7 separate regions of the Homo sapiens genome follow, and regions 1, 2, 3, 4, 5 and 7 are each linked to region 6. Evidence: promoter capture Hi-C in 16 types of primary human blood cells and fetal thymus (Javierre and others, 2016). All regions are on one chromosome and are shown on one strand. The core of a region is centred on a gene start or on the middle of the fragment in contact, and the rest is flanking DNA. Distances in the headings are between cores, read along the strand shown. Region 1 overlaps TRD-GTC2-6 (tRNA-Asp (anticodon GTC) 2-6). Region 2 holds the start of C6orf62 (chromosome 6 open reading frame 62). Region 3 has its middle 17 kb from the start of TRQ-CTG6-1. Region 4 holds the start of TRI-AAT5-2 (tRNA-Ile (anticodon AAT) 5-2). Region 5 holds the start of LINC02828 (long intergenic non-protein coding RNA 2828). Region 6 holds the start of H3C2 (H3 clustered histone 2). Region 7 has its middle 3.3 kb from the start of TRV-AAC1-5.

Region 1 (2,700 bases), core at 193-2,692, 1.4 Mb before region 6:
TAGGAATTAGCCAGTAATATAAGGAGAATTTATAATACAAATTTGAGATCTTTCTCTGTGGTTCCCTCATCACTTGAATTTTGACCATCAAGTTCTATGCACGTTGGTAGCCCCAAACTCTGACCAGTATCTCCTTAGTCCAGCACAACTGCCTCTTTCCACATGAGGTCTATTCCACAATGGTGCAATACGGGACACACCTTCAGGAGGAAAGCACTTTCAAATGTGCAAACTCATATAATGTGCTTCCCTTCTCTCAAGGATTGTAGTTTGTCAAGCCTTGCCTGGGTTGACAGCTTATCAGTGCCTTCAAACAGTTGCTTTAAGTCGGGCTTGGTGGCTCACACCTGTAATCCCAGCATTTTGGGAGGCTGAGGCAGGTAGATCACGAGGTCAGGAGTTCAAGACCAGCCTGGCCAACGTGGTGAAACCCTGTCTCTACTCAAAATACACGCCTGCAATCCCAGCTACTCGGGAGGCTGAGCCAGGAGAATGGCTCGAACTCAGGAGGCAGAGGTTGTGGTGAGCCAAGATTGCGCCATTGCACAGCAGCTTGGGCGATAGAGCGAGACTCTGTCTCAAAAAAAAAAAAAAGCCAGAAACAAACAAACAAACAAAACAATTGCTTTATAGTTCTTATCCACGATGAATCATTTTTCTTCTAGATTAAAAAAGAAATAATAGATTAAAAGGAAGTAATAGAGACAAACGAGATTCAATGTTAGGTGAAAAGGATGAGGCATCAATCACTCTACTGTTCAATAGTGTTAACGAAAAAAAGAATCCATTGGCTGAAAGTGTTGCACAATAATATTAACTTTTAAATTTGATGGCCAAAATTTCATGACAAAAATGTTAATAATAATTATTTTTCTTTTTTTTTTTTTTGGAGACAGAGTCTTGCTCTGTCGCCCAGGCTGGAGTGCAATGCTGCAATCTTGGTTCACTGCAACCTCCGCCTCCCGGGTTCAAGTGATTCTCCTGCCTCAGCCTCCGAGTAGCTGGGATTACAGGTGCCCGCCACCACACCCAGCTAATTTTTGTATTTTTAGTAGAGATGGGGTTTCAGCAGGTTGGCCAGGCTGGTATCGAACTCCAGACCTCAGGTGATCCACCCGCCTCAGCCTCCCAAAGTGCTTGGATTAGAGGCATGAGCCACCTCGCCTGGCCAATAAGTATTTTTAAAACAAAATCAGACATATTGTTATATGCTGGAAGAGTATTCTTTCATTAAAGAAGCAATGCTGTTGGCTTTGATTATGGCTCACAAAAATATTGCTTTTAATATTCATCCATTCAGCGTTGGTCGAGGGTATATACTAGGTACACTTCTAATTCCTACCTTATTATAAAGGAGCTTAGAATGATTTGGATTTCGCCATACCTTTCCATTTTATATTGTCGTTGCTGTTTTGAAATTTAGTACCATTTGTTTTCATATTCCAACATGTAATCATTACGAAACAATGTTGTTTCAGGCATTCACTCTTTATGTAGCTTTTGTCACATGTTATGAATTTTCTTGCTCACTTATAACATTTTGAATCCCACTCCTTCATCAGTTCTAAATTCCTATTCATTAATGTAGTCGTCACTCTTGTCATATGCATTGTTCAAAATTGTATATTTGCCCTTTTACATTTTAATTCGTATATTTTCATTTATAGTTTTATTAGGCTTTTCTCCTTTTAACTTTCCATTCTGAAATTATTTTAGACTGACAGACACAGTACATGAATAATACAGATAATTCCTGAGCACCCTTCACCCCAATTCCCTCAATATTAGCACATTAAGGATATTCCTATATTTTCTTTTCCTTCTCTCTCTCATATATATACATAAATGTATATTTCTGAACTATTTGACAGTGAGTTTGAAGACACATACCTCCCCTTACCCTTAAATACGTATTTTGTAAATAGGTGTGAATTTTCTTAAAGACATTTTGTTCTATAACCATAGAACAATTAATACAATCAGGAATTCACATTCATAATATTATAAAATCTATAGACTTTATTGAGATTTCACCAACTATTTCAATAATGTCCTTTAAGATAAAAATTCCAGACCATATGTTGCTGTCATATCTTTAAGATCTTCTATAATGTGGACTATTTAGTCAGCCTTTCTTTGTGTTCTGTAACTTTGTTATTTTATTTATTTGTTTATTTATTTATTTATTTATTTATTTATTTTTCCTCCCTGCTTGCCTGTTACTAGGTTGATGCAAAAGTAATTGCAGTTTTTGAGGCGTACAAGTCAGTTATTTTGTTAAAATCTCCCTCAATATGGGTTTGTCTGATGTTTTCTGATTTAGATTACATATTTTTGCCAAGAATACCACAAAAGTGACGTTGTGCTCTCATGAGCACATCCTGTAAAAAAGGTATATAATGTAGATTCGTCCCAATACTGATTCAATCACTTGGGTAAGATGGTATCTACCCGGTTTCTCCACTGTGATGGAGATTACAGTGCAGAGTGGAAATTTTCTTGCTATTACAGAACCTCATGATTTCTACAGCTTATGGTTTTTGCGATCAGTATTTCGTTGGTTTGAAAGAACTCTGCTAAAGAAAAAGAGAACCCAACATTTGCCCAGAAGACTAGAGACTGTGTTTACCGGAAGTGTGCTTTTCTAAAAAAAAGTTTAAGCCTCCTCCCCGTCGGGGAATCGAACCCCGGTCTCCCGCG
Region 2 (2,700 bases), core at 113-2,612, 1.3 Mb after region 6:
TTTTCTTTTTCTCTCCCTGTTGCCGCTGTCTCCGCGTCCTTCCCCTCCGTTGCCGCCCAGGGCGCCGAGCCAGACTATGGGTCCCAGGTGGGGGCTGAGCGGCGGCAGCAGCGCGGGCGGTCCAGTCACGGTGCGCACTGCAGCGGGGATGGAGGGGCTCAGTTGGCTGGTGGTTTTCTCTTGACATGGCTCCTGCCCGTGCTACCAGCAGCGCCCCCGCCGCCGCCGCCTCTTCCGCCGCCGCCACCGCTCCGCCCGCAGGCTGCGGCTAGAGGGCCCAAACCCCGCCCTAGAGTCGGTCCGTGAGTCCCGGGCTCCGCGGGGACAGGGAGGGGATTTCCCCGTCACCCACCCCGCCCTAGCTGCCTCAATTCCACCCCCTGCCCCTCGGGAAACAACTAACGACCCCACCCTAAACAATCCAAACTCTGGAAACATGGTCTGTTCAACGTGAGAGAGAGCTAATCCGGGAACTTAATTTTTTGGGGGGAGGGTGGGTGGGCTTACTTTAGAAGTAATATTAACACAATTATTTTCTTTTTTTCCCCCACTGAACCTTCCCATTTACCCTCTCCCGCCCACTCCACCCGGGCGGGAATTGTTTCCACGATGAAATGAGTGAAAACCTGAGTGATCCTGTGTCTCCCGTGGTGCGAGTGAGTCGCTGCCGCTGAAGGCAAGGGGTGGGGGTGGGACCTGCGGGGGTGGAAGGCAGGTGGTCTCCGGGCACCGCCTGGGATTTGGGAGAAGAACCCGCCACCTTTGCCTCGGCAATGCTCACAAGAAGATAAATCGCACTCCCCACCATTTTGAACGGGGGCAGATCCACAGGGAAGTCTCCCTTGGGGAATGTAGGACTAGTTGCAGGCTGGGGGTGTTGGGAACCCGGGCATTAATCAGGTCTAACCACAGAGCCGGAATAATTAATACCGTATTATATACCCCTTTTCCTTCTGCCGTCATGATTCTCCTTGGCAGCAGCGTTAGCAGCCGCCTGAGGGTGAAAATGTGGGTGATGGGGAAGTTGGTAATGACTCCGCTGTTTTTTCTCATGGCTCCTTTGGGCCACAGCTGCCCGCCCCCGGTATACACTGTAGTTGATTGCAGGGAAACCCTGTACCTCTCCCTTTCCTTCTCTACCGATTTTGCACTTTTCTCTATGCTCACCACCAAGTGTAATCAATAACAAGCACTGACAATACATAGCAATAGTGAAATCTGAAATAACTAAGAATTAGGTACTACAGCCATGGAGCTGGCTGGGTAAAATCTAATTGGATATTTCAGTTTCATTCACCTACCCTGTTTTGGTGTTTGGTTTTGGTTTTGGTTTTGGTGAGTTTTTTTTTTTTTTTTTTTTGGAAAGCAAGGATCACACTTCCCCCTCCCTGTTCCTTAATCCCTTTTCTAAAAAGGGGGGAAAATCCGGATGGATTTTAGGGATTGGTCTGGTGTCAGCTGTGTTTTATTGCACACCTAAATCCTGATTATAGGCTTTTCATTTCTCCGCAAAGCCTTTATTTTGGCAGTTAAGCCAAATGTGTTTTCCAGAAAGTTAGTTATTTTCTCCTCTTTCTTTCCTTTCTTTCCTCCCTTTTTCCCGTCTGACCCCAAACGTTATTGTCCAAACATGACTGGACAGCAGCTTTTGTTTCTTGACCCTGTAATATGACAGTCTGCTAATATTGACAGAAGGTGCAGTTTTTGGGTTATAGTCGTGATTTTCGCTAATCAATCATATTAGCAGGAAAAAAAATGACTTGTTTCTGTTGTACTTGAGTCTTAAGAAAAAGTGCCCATAGTTTAGTGACAATTTCCAAAGGCTTTAGTACCACCTGTATTTCAAAATGGGGGACCCAAACTCCCGGAAGAAACAAGCTCTGAACAGACTACGTGCTCAGCTTAGAAAGAAAAAAGAATCTCTAGCTGACCAGTTTGACTTCAAGATGTATATTGCCTTTGTATTCAAGGAGAAGGTAATTTAAAGTTCTTAATGGTGAATTAGCACAAGTAATTTTTGTAAGTGTATATTATTTGTTACTCTTAAATTATTATGAATATTAGGTTAAAGAGTGGTTGAAAAAAAGTCTGCTTTGTATGCTCTGTTTTTTCACCCTTAGGGGTGATTCTGTGAATTGAGCAGTTGCAGCATGCGAAAAGACCCTTGAGCGTTCTTTGGTTTGGAAATAAATTTGAGTCTGAAGCTTAGTAGTAGTATACACTGAGTTGACATGGGGTGGGCAAGATTACAAAATTTTATATGGAGTTAACATGGGAAACCTTATGATGGAATTTAAAGATTATCTAATGTAGAGTATAAATAAGATGGTTGAAAGTGTGAAATTGTAATCAGACTGTTTATATGCTAAAGTTTATCCTGTTTCTTAAACTGCGTAATGTAGGTAACCTTTTCTCTTACATTTAATGAAGTAGAATACACCTTTTAGGAGCAATTAAATACTGAAATGGTTAATTTGTGTTTAGAAGTGTGATTTTCTTTTTTACTTAGAGTTCATTTTGCCTTGTATAGAAGTACAGTTTTTAAAAACTCAAAATGACCTAGAGGAAGTTTCATTTTTAGGGGCGGTGGAGGTCTTAATCAGAATTAGTTCCGCAGTTAAATAGCAAACAGTAAGTTGTGAGTAGTCAAGGATGGGATGATAAGAGCAGTATTTTTTGCAACTTAAAATGAACATTTTC
Region 3 (2,700 bases), core at 164-2,663, 1.7 Mb before region 6:
GAACTTACTCCCAACCCCGTGCTCTCTGAAACATGTGCTGTGTCAAACTCAGGGTTAAATGGATTAAGGGCGGTGCAAGATGTGCTTTGTTAAACAGATGCTTGAAGGCAGCATGCTCGTTAAGCGTCATCACCACTCCCTAATCTCAAGTACCCAGGGACACAAACACTGCAGAAGGCCGCAGGGACCTCTGCCTAGGAAAGCCAGGTATTGTCCAAGGTTTCTCCCCATGTGATAGTCTGAAATATGGCCTCTTGGGAAGGGAAAGACCTGACCGTCCCCCAGCCCGACACCTGTAAAGGGTCTGTGCTGAGGAGGATTAGTATAAGAGGAAGGCATGCCTCTTGCAGTTGAGACAAGAGCAAGGCATCTGTCTCCTGTCCGTCCCTGGGCAATGGAATGTCTCGGTATAAAACCCGATTGTACGTTCCATCTACTGAGATAGGGAAAAACCGCGTTAGGGCTGGAGGTGGGACATGCGGGCAGCAATACTGCTTTGTAAAGCATTGAGATGTTTATGTGTATGCATATCTAAAAGCACAGCACTTAATCCTTTACCTTGTCTATGATGCAAAGACCTTTGTTCACGTGTTTGTCTGCTGACCCTCTCCCCACAATTGTCTTGTGACCCTGACACATCCCCCTCTCGGAGAAACACCCACGAATGATCAATAAATACTAAGGGAACTCAGAGGCTGGTGGGATCCTCCATATGCTGAACGCTGGTCCCCCGGGTCCCCTTATTTCTTTCTCTATACTTTGTCTCTGTGTCTTTTTCTTTTCCAAGTCTCTCGTTCCACCTTACGAGAAACACCCACAGGTGTGGAGGGGCAACCCACCCCTTCATTCTCTCTTCACTAGAAAACCAGTGAGGAAGTGGAAGGAGGAGACTGAGCACCTGCCATGTAATATGCAGTGGTGTACCTCACTTAATGTGCAGCAGGAAGAGCCGCAGACAAAACCCCTCAGACACCGAGTTAAAGAAGGAAGGGGTTTATTTGGCCTGGAGCATCGGCAAGACTTCTGTCTCAAGAACCGAGCTCCCTGAGTGAGCAATTCCTGTCCCTTTTAAGGGCTCACAACTCTAAGGGGGTCCACATGAGAGGGTCGTGATCAACTGAGCAAGCAGGGGGTGCATGTTTGGGGGCTGCATGCACCAGTAATCAGAACGGAACAGAACAGGACAGGGATTTTTACAATGCTTTTCCATACAATGTCTGGAAACTATAGATAACATAACCAGTGTTAGGTCAGGGGTTAATCTTTAACTACCAGGCCCAGGGCGTGGCGCCGGGCTGTCTGCCTGTGGATTTCATTTCTGCTTTTTAGTTTTTACTTCTTCTTTCTTTGGAGGCAGAAATCGGGCATAAGACAATATGAGGGGTGGTCTCCTCCCTCATTCGCTCACCTCATTAAAAGTGATGAGGCTGTCTTTGTCTTACAGATGAGAAGACTGAGGCATAAATCTGTGACCCTTCACCTGTATGTTTCAATTTCATGTCTATGTTTATCAGGATGCTTTTTTGTTTGTTTGTTTTTGCAGAGGGTGGGGAACAGGGTCTTGCTCTGTCACCTAGGCTGCAGTGCAGTGGCACGATCATAACTCACTATAACCTTGACCTCCTGGGCTTAAGTGATCCTCCTACCTCAGCCTCCCCAGTAACTAGGACTACAGGCCCACACCACCACACCTGGCTAATTTTTTTATTATTATTTTTTGTGGAGATGAGGTCTCGCTAGGCATGAGCCACGAGACCTATTCCTCGTTTTTGAAAGGTAAAGGATCCGACACTTTAGAAGAAAGGTAAAGGAGGAATTTTTAGAGAAACCAGTTCAAGAGAAGCTGTTAATGGTACTTACAGGAAACATAAGTGTTTGAACGACAAGGCTGGAAAAGAATTAATGCACCATGGGACAATTATCATAACGAGAGTGGTAAGGAGATGGAATGGAGAGTTGGGGGGAAGGAGAAATCAGCAGTTTCCCAGATCTGGAATTACAACAGGGCCCCAAGTTCCCATCCCACCATCAGGAAAGATACCTGGTGAGAACCTCAAATAGACCTGCTGATGTTTCTTCAACACTGCCTTGCACGTCCCTTTCCTCGTGTTCATGTGGGGACCTGCAGGTCATTAAACTACAAATCAGTCTTACCTGCTTCATGAGGAGCTTTTTCCCAAGAGACATTTAGCAAAGAGCTTGGGCGATATCCTTAGCGCTGTAGTGGTGGACAGAGCTTTCCTCCGAGCAGTCTCATGGGCAGAGCTTTCCTCCAAGCAGTCGGAGAGCTTTCCTAAGCTCCTAACAGCTCCTAAAGGAGCTGTTAAAATTAGCTACAAGGACAAGGAAGAGCTTGGGCTGATAAGACCCTAATAAACAGGATGAGGGCTAAGCTGTCTGAAACCGTCTGAGTCCAACGTGGCGCTGGATTTGACCCATGCCCTACCCAAGACCTAATTATATGCTAATTACCAAACGAAATTACACACCTTCAGAGAGCTTTCCTCTGACTGCTTGGAGGAAGCTCTGCCCACCACAAATGCAACGAGTAACCCTGGCACCCAGTTGCGTTTCCGCGGCTTGCTAAAGGCCTGCTCTCCAAGGCTGCCAGGCCTTGCTGAGTTTGCACAAAGAAACGCGGCCCGCGGTAGCAGGCGTCCGGCTTCCTGGGGCGCGCCGCCTGGTGGAGACTGCGGGGAA
Region 4 (2,700 bases), core at 126-2,625, 1.1 Mb before region 6:
TGCTCCTTGCCTGTTACAATTGCAAGAGCACACCAAACAAAGGAGGTAAGGAGTTTTTAATCCTAACGCAGTTCCTGTTTCTGTGTCCTTCCCCTATTGGCTGGGGTTGGACCGCACAATCTAAGCTGATCCCGATTGGCTAAGACTTAAACTTTGGCAAATAGGGTAAACCCTGGATTTGCGAAAAAAAGGAGTGTATGTGTGTGGTGGGGGGCGGGGGGCAGGCAGGATTGACGTACAACTTTTGCAACTTATGACAAGAAAGTTGAGTCTTTGAAGAGGGACTTAGTTGTCCCAACACTCTGAGTTGCCTGACCCGGTCCTGGGCTCAGTTCCTCCCAGATACCGGCGTTTATCATTGGTGTAGATAATGGTGACTTCCCTTGTCTTAGATGTGGGTGTCTTGGTCTTCCCGGGACGGAAGGAGTCAGAGACTCTTGAAAGGAGCCGTCCCGCTGGTCCTTTCATTTACGCCGATGCCAGCCCGGCACTCGAGCATCACCAAGGGCCCGGTGCCCGGCACTGCAGGGCCAAGTCTGATTTTATCGTTTGTGGAGCTGCAAGCTTAGGACGCACAGCTGTGAATTTCGGGTCCTGGTGACTGCGGAACCACCGCGAGGCCAGGAGGCGAGACAGTGCACTTTCCCAGGTTCCCAGGCCTAAGAGCCCACCTGGCTGGAATGGTCTCAAGGAGCAGAGAGGAATCCGCACCCTCCGAGTCCTCCGAACCCTCCGATCCTGCGAACCTGCGGCGGCTCTGCGGTTGGTTCCGTGAGGAACTGGCCGCGATCGCAAGCTTGGAGCTGCTTTTTGGTTTGTTCTGAGTCCTTCACCTGGTGAGGGGAAGGAAGCCCTGCTTGGGGTCGTTGAATCTGAGTTTTCTCCAGTCAGAATCAGTGGTTTGAGATTGTTTTCCCTGAAACAGCATGGTTTTCCTGTGCCTACAGTGAGGAATTCTCCTTTTCTTAAAAAAAAATATATTTTATTAATAAAAGGGAAAGTAACGCTTCTATTACAAAAAAAAAAAAATTCAGCGGGCATGGATCAGGTATGATTTAAATAAACATAAGAAAAGACCCTCCCACCAAGGAGGCCGGTTAGCTCAGTTGGTTAGAGCGTGGTGCTAATAACGCCAAGGTCGCGGGTTCGATCCCCGTACGGGCCACTTCCGTGGGTTTGTTTTTTTTTTTTTTCTTCTTTTTCGTTTTTATTTTACACCGACCACACCTCGCTTGTAAACTTCGGTTTTACATCGAACTCCGTAGCCTCGCCTATCCATTTATAAATGTAGTTGCACTAGCTAGACAGGAATTTTTTTCTTTTTTCTTTTTTTTTTTTCTTAAATCGACCACACCTGGATTGTATACTACCGTCTTACATCCAACTCCGGAGCGCTGCCTATCCATTTGTAAATGTGGTCGCAATAGCTAGACAAGCATTAGATTTGCACGTTTTTTATTCTTTTGAAGAAATAATATACGAGTTAGGATGAAAAGGTTTTTCTTATTTGTTTGTTTTGTTTGTTTTTGAGACAGAGTCTTGCTCTGACGCCCAGGCTGGAGTGCAGCGGCGCGATCTTGGCTCGCTGCAACCTCCGCCTCCCAGGTTTAAGCAATTCTTCTGCCTCAGCCTCCCAAGTAGCTGGGATTACAGGCGTGTGCCACGATGCCTGGGTAATTTTTGTATTTTCAGTAGAGACGGAGTTTCACCATGTTGGCCAGGCTAGTCTTGAACTCCTGACCTCAGGTGATCCGCCTGCCTTGGCCTCCCAAAGTGCTGAGATTACAGGCATGAGCCATCGCGCCCGGCCAGGATGAAGATTTTTTAAAGGAAATTCAATGAGGTGGGTGGGTGATTTTAGAAAAGGGTTAAATAAGAATTCGATAATGTCTTGTATTATTTTGGGAAAAAAAAACTTTCTGAGATAATACTATTTTGACATATTTTAAGCTTTTGAAAGAGATCATATTGATTCTTCTCCTAGTTGATCACTCAGTTGGTTAAATTGTTGTGTTTGTAGCTTTGAGGGCGAGGGTTCAGTCTACGTGGGAAAAAGCCAGACTTGTGACGTTGCTTTCTGCCAAGCTCCAGACACTCAGCCACAACTGCTCAGTGTTAAAATAGATCCGTGGTTAGCCTTAGGCTTATATTTGACAGCTGTTCTCGATGTGGCCCATACCAAGCCATTTACGATGCGGCCCTTACCAAGCCATTTACAGTTCATTAAACAATTTTTGAACATATATCGTAAAAGCGATAGGTTTGAAATGTGACAAAAATGGAGTGCGTGGTGGGAGACAGGAGGGCCAGAGCCTCTGGGTCCACTCTAAGTCTTAGCACCTCGCTCTTTCTGTCCTGCGCTTTCTTTTTTTTTTTCTTTTTTTCTTTTTCTTTTTTTTTTTTTTTTTTGAGACGGAGTCTCGCTCTGTCGCCCAGGCTGGAGTGCAGTGGCGCAATCTCGGCTCACTGCAAGCTCCGCCTCCCGGGTTCACGCCATTCTCCTGCCTCAGCCTCCCAAGTAGCTGGGACTACAGGCGCCCGCCACTACGCCCGGCTAATTTTTTGTATTTTTAGTAGAGACGGGGTTTCACCGTTTTAGCCGGGATGGTCTCGATCTCCTGACCTCGTGATCCGCCCGCCTCGGCCTCCCAAAGTGCTGGGATTACAGGCGTGAGCCACCGCGCCCAGCCCTGTCCTGCG
Region 5 (2,700 bases), core at 197-2,696, 1.3 Mb after region 6:
TGGTAAATGCCTTGGGGTTGCATTTGTTCTCTATCCACAATCTCATCTACTGCATACTTGGCAATGCGGTTTCCATCCTCCCAGCAACACTGAAACTGTTTTCTAAAAGGTCAACAAAGACCTCTTTTTAGTTAAATCCATTATTCTTTTCTGGTTTTTCTTTCTCTGTTTCTCTCTACAGCATTAAAAAGAAAAAAAAAAGATTTCTCATACCTCAAATGTTCGGCTTCCTTGGCTTCTGTCCTATTTGCTAGCAGTTCCTTCCCTTTTTATTGCCTTTTATTTCTCTTGCCATTCCTTTGCTACGTATTCCCTTGCTCCCTATTCTCTCTATCCTTTCACTCCAAAGTCACATTATCTTCCCTGTAGCCATTACCTCTGCGGTTAAAAAGGCCTGTTCTGTTTTCTTTTTCTTTTCTTTCTTTCTTTCTTTCTTTTCTTTTTTTTTTTTTTTTTTGAGATGGAGTCTTGCTCTGTTTCCCAGGCTGGAGTGCAGTGGCTCTGTCTCAGCTCACTGCAACCTCTGCCTCCCAGGTTCAAGCAATTCTCCTTCCTCAGCCTCCCGAGTAGCTGGAATTACAGGCATGTGCCACCATGCCTGGCTAATTTTTGTATTTTTAGTAGAGATGGGGTTTTACCATGTTGGCCAGGTGGTCTCGAACTCCTGACTGCAGGTAATCTGCCCTCCTTGGCCTTCCAAAGTGCTGGGATTACAGGCGTGAGCCGCCATATTTCACTGGGGCTGCAATTTTAAATTTTATTTTATGTATATATGTATTTATTTATTTATTTTAATTTTTTATTTTTTGAGACAGAGTCTCACACTGTAGCCCAGGCTGGAGGGCAGTGGTCAGATATCAGCTCACTGCAACCTCTGCCTCCCAGGCTCAAATGATCCTCCCACCTCAGTCTCCTGAGTAGCTGGGATTACAGGCGTGCACCACCACACCAAGCTAATTTTTTTGTATTTTTAGTAGAGATGGGGTTTTGCCATGTTGGCCAAGCTAGTCTTGAACTCCTGACCTAAAGTAATCTGCCTGCCTTGGCCTGCCAAAGTGCTGGGATTACAGCCATGAGCCACCATGCCTGGCCTTATTTACATATTTATTTTTGAGATGAGGTCTCAGTCTGTCACCCAGACTGGAGTGCAGTGCTGCTGTGATAGATAACTGTAGCCTGAAGCTCCTGGGCTCAAGCAATCCTTCTGCCTCAGCTTCCCAAGTAGCTGGGACTACAGATGCAAGCCACCATGCCCAGATAATTTATGAGTTTTTTGTAGAGATGGCATCTCACTATATTGCCCAGGCTGGTCTTGAACTCCTGGGTTCAGGCAAACCTCCCATGGCTGGGCTCTAGGCTTGGCTTTCCAAAGTGCTGGGGTTATAGGCATGAACCACTATGCCTGGCTGGTGCTGCAATTCAAAATCACCTCCCTTCTCAAACTAGCTCCCTTTCCCACTTTCCTGCCTGTGGTCATGGCATGGTCACTTTCTTAGTCACTGTCTTAGTCTGCTCAGGCTGCCATAACAAAACACCACAGACTGGATAGCTAAAACAACAGAAATTTATTTTCTCACAGTTCTCTGGGTCAGAAGTCCAAGATCAAGATTCTGGCAGGTTTGGTTTCTCCTGAACTCTCTCTCCTTGGCTTGCAGATGGCCATCTTCTTGGTGGGTCCTCACATGGCTTTTATTTTATTTTATTTTTTGCACCAGAGGCAGGGTCTCATTCTGCTGCCTCAGACTCCCGAGCTCAAGCAATGCTCCTGCTTTAGCTTCTCAAGTTGTTGGGATTACAGGCATGCACCACTGTACCCAGCAATGGCCTTTCTTTTGTGCATGTATTTCTGGTTTCTCTCCCTTTTCTTATAAGGACATTAATCATATTGGATTGGAGACCACTCTAATAACTTTTTCACCTCTCTAATAATTTTTTAACCTTAATCATCTCTTTAAAGGTCTTATCTCTAAATACAGGCACATTCTGAAGCATACTAGGGATTAGGATTTCAATATATGAATTTTGGGGAGGCACAATTCAGTCCGTAACAGTTACTCGCACCAAAACTTGGGTGTCCTCTTCACTTACCTCTATCATTTTCTATCCAGATATTTTACTTTCTAGATTTTTTCTATTAAGTGTTTAAATTCATCCTTTTATCACCATTGCCAGTGCCATTTTCAGGCCTTAATCAACTCTAAATTTCCATGCCTGGTCTTTTATAAGGCCCTCTGTAATCTGACCCATCTTGTCTTTTCTTTTAGTATGTTTATCATGTACATTGTAGAAAATATAACACTAAATTTTTGTGTCTGGCTACTTTCACTCAATAAAAAAGCAACAGTCCTCTTCCCTACCCAGACCCATTTCCCAGATGCAGCCTTCATATAGTTGAAAATTCAAAAGGTACCAAAGTCTACACTGTGAAAAATCTCCCTCCCACAGGCAACCAACGTTATTAGTTTATTGTATATCCTGATCTTATAGCTAGTTTGTACCCATGGGTACGTCTACTCATTTTCCCACAAATGGCAGTGTATTAGCCTGTTCTCATACTGTTATGATGAAATATTCACAATTGGGTAATTTATAAAGAAAAAGAGGTTTAATGGACACACAGTTCCATATGGCTGGGGAGGCCTCACAATCATGGCAGAAGGTGAAGGAGGAGCAAAGGTACATCTTAAATGGTGGCAGGCA
Region 6 (2,700 bases), core at 146-2,645:
TTTCCTGTGGGCCGAGTGCACCGCCTGCTCCGCAAAGGCAACTACTCCGAGCGCGTCGGGGCTGGCGCGCCGGTGTATCTCGCGGCGGTGCTTGAGTACCTGACCGCCGAGATCCTGGAGCTGGCGGGCAATGCGGCCCGCGACAACAAGAAGACCCGCATCATCCCGCGCCACCTGCAATTGGCCATCCGCAATGACGAGGAGCTTAATAAACTCTTGGGGCGTGTGACCATCGCGCAGGGTGGCGTTTTGCCTAATATTCAGGCGGTGCTGCTGCCTAAGAAAACTGAGAGCCATCATAAGGCCAAGGGAAAGTGAAGAGTTAACGCTTCATGCACTGCTGTTTTTCTGTCAGCAGACAAAATCAGCCTAACAGCAAAGGCTCTTTTCAGAGCCACCTACGACTTCCATTAAATGAGCTGTTGTGCTTTGGATTATGCCGCCCATAAAGATGTTTTTGAGGTGTTTTTAATGGCTTTGAGTGTGGCACTTTTAGTAATTTGTCCTGCAGAAATTAGATCCATAGAAACCTCAGGAATTCTAGGTATGTGGGAGAAGTGCCATGCAGCACAAAACATGTTTACAGGGGTGATTCGCGTTAAGTTTCACACACAGCAGTTACTACATTTTAGAGGAAGGAAATTATACCCATGAGTGCATTCCTAACTATCTTGAATGGAAGTGTTAAAACCCGCATGCCCCACACAAGTTTGAATATGTCATACCATTTGCTGTAGCAATTAATGGCATACACAATTGAGAGCACACACATTACCACTGAACATTTGAGTATGTATTTCCCAAAATGAGCTTTTTTCCAGTTTGGGGATGTTTTGCTTTGTTTTGGGGTGGAGTCTCCCTCTCGCCCAAGCTGCAGTGCAGCGGCGTGATAACAGCTCACTGTAACCTCGAACTCGGGCTCAAGCGATCCTCTTGACAGCCTTCTGAGTAGCTGGGATTACAGGCGAGAGCCGCCACGCCCGGCTAAGAGCATTTTTCTAATTGCCCACACTTCTTATGCGACACCCAGAAAAATACAATTTTAAATAAAGCGCATATGCAAATTTCCCTAATCGTCTCCAATATTCTCTGATTTCTTTTTTATATTTTAACTAGAAACAATTGGAGGTTTCCGCGTTGCTTTGTGTGGTTGTAAATTTTAAGACTTCAGGAAACTTTTCCAGTACAAGACTTGTCCACAGTGGATATAGCAGCTAAGGGGTTAACAAAATGACGTCAGAGTAGCTACGGTAATGGGCAGGAGCCTCTCTTAATCTGCAACCAGGCACAGAGATGGACCAATCCAAGAAGGGCGCGGGGATTTTTGAATTTTCTTGGGTCCAATAGTTGGTGGTCTGACTCTATAAAAGAAGAGTAGCTCTTTCCTTTCCTCCACAGACGTCTCTGCAGGCAAGCTTTTCTGTGGTTTTGCCATGGCTCGTACTAAACAGACAGCTCGGAAATCCACCGGCGGTAAAGCGCCACGCAAGCAGCTGGCTACCAAGGCTGCTCGCAAGAGCGCGCCGGCTACCGGCGGCGTGAAAAAGCCTCACCGTTACCGCCCGGGCACTGTGGCTCTGCGCGAGATCCGCCGCTACCAAAAGTCGACCGAGTTGCTGATTCGGAAGCTGCCGTTCCAGCGCCTGGTGCGAGAAATCGCCCAAGACTTCAAGACCGATCTTCGCTTCCAGAGCTCTGCGGTGATGGCGCTGCAGGAGGCTTGTGAGGCCTACTTGGTAGGGCTCTTTGAGGACACAAACCTTTGCGCCATCCATGCTAAGCGAGTGACTATTATGCCCAAAGACATCCAGCTCGCTCGCCGCATTCGCGGAGAAAGAGCGTAAATGTAAAGTCACTTTTTCATCAGTCTTAAAACCCAAAGGCTCTTTTCAGAGCCACCCACTTATTCCAACGAAAGTAGCTGTGATAATTTTTTGTTGTCTTAACAGAACAAATTTCTAAGGACCCCCCCGGAAAGCATTAGACTATGGTCTTAAAGTTGATTAACAGAAATAACGGTTTGGTCAGTCTTGCAGTGTAGGTTATTTCTGACCTTATTAAGGTGCTATTTGGAGAGAAGCTGTGTAAGTCCACTATCATTCAGGCCTCTAGCTTGCTATGATTAGCATTTGTTTAAACAACTTTGTAAGAGTAAGGGAAAAATCTGGTAAGTAGTTAACTGGCGCTTACTAGGCATTTTTGCAAAGCTTTGAAAAGATTAGAAAATTGTGTCTTGCGAGTTCCAGTGTCTTCCTCAAAATGCTTAGGAAGATTTTCTCAGCTCAATACATAGTCCCCTAGGTTTTCTCATATATTATATATATATATATATATATATATACTGTTAAATTCATTTGGCTGTTAACATTAACCTGAAATTTATTCTGGTGCAAAATGTGAGGCAGGGATCTAACTGGCTCTCATTTTATCCATAGCTAGCTACCCACTTTAAATCTGTCAGTCTGTCGACCAAGCATAATTTAATCCCTTATATATGAATTTTTATATGTGTGGCTTTGCTTGTAAATAGTCTATCTGGTTGCATTGCTTTGTCTCCTCTAGGACTATGCACCATGACATGCCACATTCTTTTTTTCAGTACTTCTTGCCTGTAGTTATTAAAATCTAGAATTTACAAGTTTTAACCATTTTCTTTCTGTTGATCTTGCTTTTCGGTTTTGGAGGTTGGGGATTGAGTAC
Region 7 (2,700 bases), core at 24-2,523, 1.7 Mb before region 6:
GATGGGATCTCTCTTTGTCACCCAGGCTGGGATGCAGCAGAGCAATTATGCCTCACTGAAGCCTCGACTTCCCTGGTTCAAGCGATTACCCTGCCTCATCCTCCGGAGTAACTGGGACCACAGGCGCCTGCCACCATGCCCGGCTAATAAAAAAAATTTTAGAGACTAGGGTCTCGCTATGTTGCCCGTGTTGCCCAGGCTGGTCTCGAACTCCTGGGCTCAGGCGATCCTCCTACCTTGGCCTCCCAAAGTGCTGGGATTACAGGTGTGAGCCACCAAGCCTGGCCGTGACATGATTTTTATATATAGAAAACCCTGAAAATTACACACACACACTCAAACACACACACACACAAACTGTTACAGCAAATAAAGAAATTTAGCAAAATAAGGATAAACAACCACATGAGTTCCAGCAGAGAGCGCGGTGGGAAGCGGAGCGCGGCCAGCTGCTCTGGGGCCCTGCAGACCCTCTGGTCTTGGACCTGAGGAGGAGACGGGGGCCCGGCCCCGCGGCGGCCTCTGCTCTGCAGGCTCCCAGAGTCCTTGCTGTGTCTCCCACCGGCCAGGCCCAGGCCTGAGGCAGCGTCGAACCTCTCTTCACTTCCCACCTCGGTGACCTGGTGGCCCTCTGGTCTTCCAGAAAACCCTGCCGGGCCTAGACTAAGCCCCCGCTGGCCGCCAGGACGCAGCGCCTTTGTGTGGCGGCGGGTGTCGGGGGCGGGAAGAATCGCGCGGAAGCTGCCGGGGTGTGCAGGGACCGGGAAGGCGGAGCTAGGGATGCAGGTTCGGTCGCCTCTTTAGGCCACTGCGCCACGCAGATTGGGTCCAGAAGGTGCCGTTAAGTTTCTTCCCAGAAACTGTCAAGGTGCTGGTATGTTTCTTGCCCTTGCACTTTTAGTGTACTAAAATCAACGGCCAAACTCTACTCTTTATAGCAATCAAAGTATTCACCCATGCGCCCAATTTCTTTGCAAATGCCAAGCAAGAAAACCTCAGGTAGATGGAGGGAGCAGATAATTTGACTTTTTTTTTCTTTAATTTCACTATAGTGTCCTCCTCCACACATACAAGGATGAAGTTTTGTTTTTTAAGATGAAACAAATTTGTCATTAATGAAAGGATTGTCAAAATCTTCCCAAAGGTCCTCAGCTTCTGAATCACCTGGAAGCTTCTAAAAATTAAGACTTGTGGGCCATACCAGAGACCCTCTGCACTAGAAGGGGGTATGGCAAGGAATCTTAGGAATAGTCCACCTGGAGAATCACTAGCGTAAGTTCTGGGCCTCACATTCCCTCAGAAGAGTCCCATGAACCTGTGGTCAGCAGCTTAGGGCTGGTCTTCTTTACTGATCTGAGGGACAATGGGAAGCTTAGGACTCCCTGCATGGCATCTCTCCCGCCCAGGGGAGAACAGCTCAACAAATTTCCTCATTAACTACAAAGTTAAATGGAAGCATATGCTATGAAAATGCCACAAAAAGCTGTTGCTAGATGAAAATGTCTAAATTTGCTTTAAATTATCATGGGGGCTTGGCAGAGGGAGGAGAGACTAATTGTTGAAGTAGGATCATGGAAATAAGGAGGTCCATAATATTCTCTATAATCTTTTTTTGTCATAAACAGGGGTTTATAAAACTACCTAGTATAGCATGGTGGTCAAGAACACCAGTTCTGGAGACAAACACACCTGGTGGTGTCCTTTCCTAGCTAGCATAACCTCAGCACATTGTTCAAGCCTTAACTTGCTCAAATGTAAACCCGAAATGACAGGGATAGATCTTGACTCAGGAGGCTTGACAAGGCTAAAAGTAATACTAAAAATAAAAGCAGTAACTACTTCTGTAAGTTGAGCACTGTCTGAAACACTTCAGGGAGTTTTTCTTAATTGAGTTTATGATAATTCTATGAGGTACACACTGTATCCATATCCATTTTACCAGCACAGACAGAGTCATGAAGAAGCCAAATAGCTTGCCTGAAACCCTACATATGATGAGAAAGTGGCAGAGGAAGGAATTGTACTCAGATATTTTGGCTCCAAAGATCCCTGCCAGATCTGCCCTGCCAGTTCATAAGGACTAAGAAGATGCCTCCTCTCTATACTACCATCCAAATGCTTCGCAATCTGTACGTCTGTTGCTCCACTTTTTGCTTATGGCATATTGGCTGCTCATGTTCCTCTTTCTTCTCCTTGAGAGTTAGGATTGTGTAATCTTGTCCTGCATGCCTCTGGTACTCCTAGTGACAACATAGGGTCACAATTGTCTGGCACATTGTTTGTAGCTCAATAATTTATTTTTCTTTTTAAAAAAATTTGAAATGGGGATCTCGCAATGTTGCCCAGGCTGTCTCGAACTCATGGCTCAAGTGATCATCCCGCCTAAGCCTCCCAAAGTGCTAGAATTACAGGCATGAGCCACTGTGCCCAGCCAATAATTTATTTTAATTAATATGAAATAAATGTGTTTACAACAATTTTTTTTAAATTAGAGATGGAGTCTCCCTATATTGCCCAGGCTGGAGGGCAGTGGCTTTTCACAGACACAATCATTGCACATGCAACCTCAAACTCCTGGGCTCAAGTGATCTTCCTGATTTACTTCGTCTCCAGAGTAACTAGAACTACAGGTACACCACTATGTCCAGTTTAACAATATTTTTTATCTTTTTTCTTTCTTTTTTTCTTTAACAATATTTT

What was found. Contacts are between HindIII fragments. The CHiCAGO score rates a contact against its expected background, and 5 or more counts as called.
Region 1: a fragment that was not itself captured here is called in contact with the fragment with the promoter of H3C2 in region 6 in 5 of 17 cell types (naive CD8 T cells, monocytes, total B cells and 2 more); the score reaches 7.1 in naive CD8 T cells.
Region 2: the fragment with the promoter of C6orf62 here is called in contact with the fragment with the promoter of H3C2 in region 6 in 1 of 17 cell types (M1 macrophages); the score reaches 6.2 in M1 macrophages.
Region 3: a fragment that was not itself captured here is called in contact with the fragment with the promoter of H3C2 in region 6 in 3 of 17 cell types (M0 macrophages, M2 macrophages and monocytes); the score reaches 7.4 in M0 macrophages.
Region 4: a contact is called between a fragment that was not itself captured here and the fragment with the promoter of H3C2 in region 6, in 2 of 17 cell types (total CD8 T cells and total CD4 T cells). The highest score is 5.9, in total CD8 T cells.
Region 5: a contact is called between a fragment that was not itself captured here and the fragment with the promoter of H3C2 in region 6, in 1 of 17 cell types (M0 macrophages). The highest score is 6.2, in M0 macrophages.
Region 7: a fragment that was not itself captured here is called in contact with the fragment with the promoter of H3C2 in region 6 in 1 of 17 cell types (fetal thymus); the score reaches 5.3 in fetal thymus.

What each region holds. Positions count from the first base shown.
Region 1 is chr6:27,479,711-27,482,410 of GRCh38, reverse strand. TRD-GTC2-6 (tRNA-Asp (anticodon GTC) 2-6) reads right to left here; the gene lies at 2,666-2,700. Among named protein-coding and RNA genes, the nearest start is that of TRD-GTC2-6, 1.4 kb to the right of the region's middle. RefSeq lists a silencer at 2,625-2,684. The HindIII fragment of the contact is 3,440 bases long and covers 1-2,700 here.
Region 2 is chr6:24,717,816-24,720,515 of GRCh38, reverse strand. C6orf62 (chromosome 6 open reading frame 62) reads left to right here and starts at 1,362. Exons shown (of 5, transcript NM_030939.5): 1 at 1,362-1,976. The coding sequence starts at 1,848. RefSeq lists a silencer at 149-318 and an enhancer at 1-681. The HindIII fragment of the contact is 3,349 bases long and covers 1-2,206 here.
Region 3 is chr6:27,772,606-27,775,305 of GRCh38, reverse strand. No RefSeq gene overlaps it. Among named protein-coding and RNA genes, the nearest start is that of TRQ-CTG6-1, 17 kb to the left of the region's middle. The HindIII fragment of the contact is 4,434 bases long and covers 1-2,700 here.
Region 4 is chr6:27,175,680-27,178,379 of GRCh38, reverse strand. TRI-AAT5-2 (tRNA-Ile (anticodon AAT) 5-2) reads left to right here and starts at 1,092; the gene lies at 1,092-1,165. RefSeq lists enhancers at 345-444, 635-834, a silencer at 1,037-1,186 and a cis regulatory region at 176-1,253. The HindIII fragment of the contact is 1,154 bases long and covers 799-1,952 here.
Region 5 is chr6:24,739,860-24,742,559 of GRCh38, reverse strand. It overlaps LINC02828 (long intergenic non-protein coding RNA 2828), which reads right to left and starts at 255. Exons shown (of 3, transcript NR_183315.1): 1 at 214-255. The HindIII fragment of the contact is 3,603 bases long and covers 1-2,700 here.
Region 6 is chr6:26,030,794-26,033,493 of GRCh38, reverse strand. H3C2 (H3 clustered histone 2) reads left to right here and starts at 1,395. Exons shown (of 1, transcript NM_003537.4): 1 at 1,395-1,905. The coding sequence starts at 1,434. The coding sequence ends at 1,844. It overlaps H2AC4 (H2A clustered histone 4), which reads left to right. Exons shown (of 1, transcript NM_003513.3): 1 at 1-402. The coding sequence ends at 318. RefSeq lists a silencer at 1-18 and enhancers at 1-431, 1,369-1,488, 1,529-1,758. The HindIII fragment of the contact is 2,287 bases long and covers 1-1,417 here.
Region 7 is chr6:27,755,444-27,758,143 of GRCh38, reverse strand. No RefSeq gene overlaps it. Among named protein-coding and RNA genes, the nearest start is that of TRV-AAC1-5, 3.3 kb to the right of the region's middle. The HindIII fragment of the contact is 200 bases long and covers 1,174-1,373 here.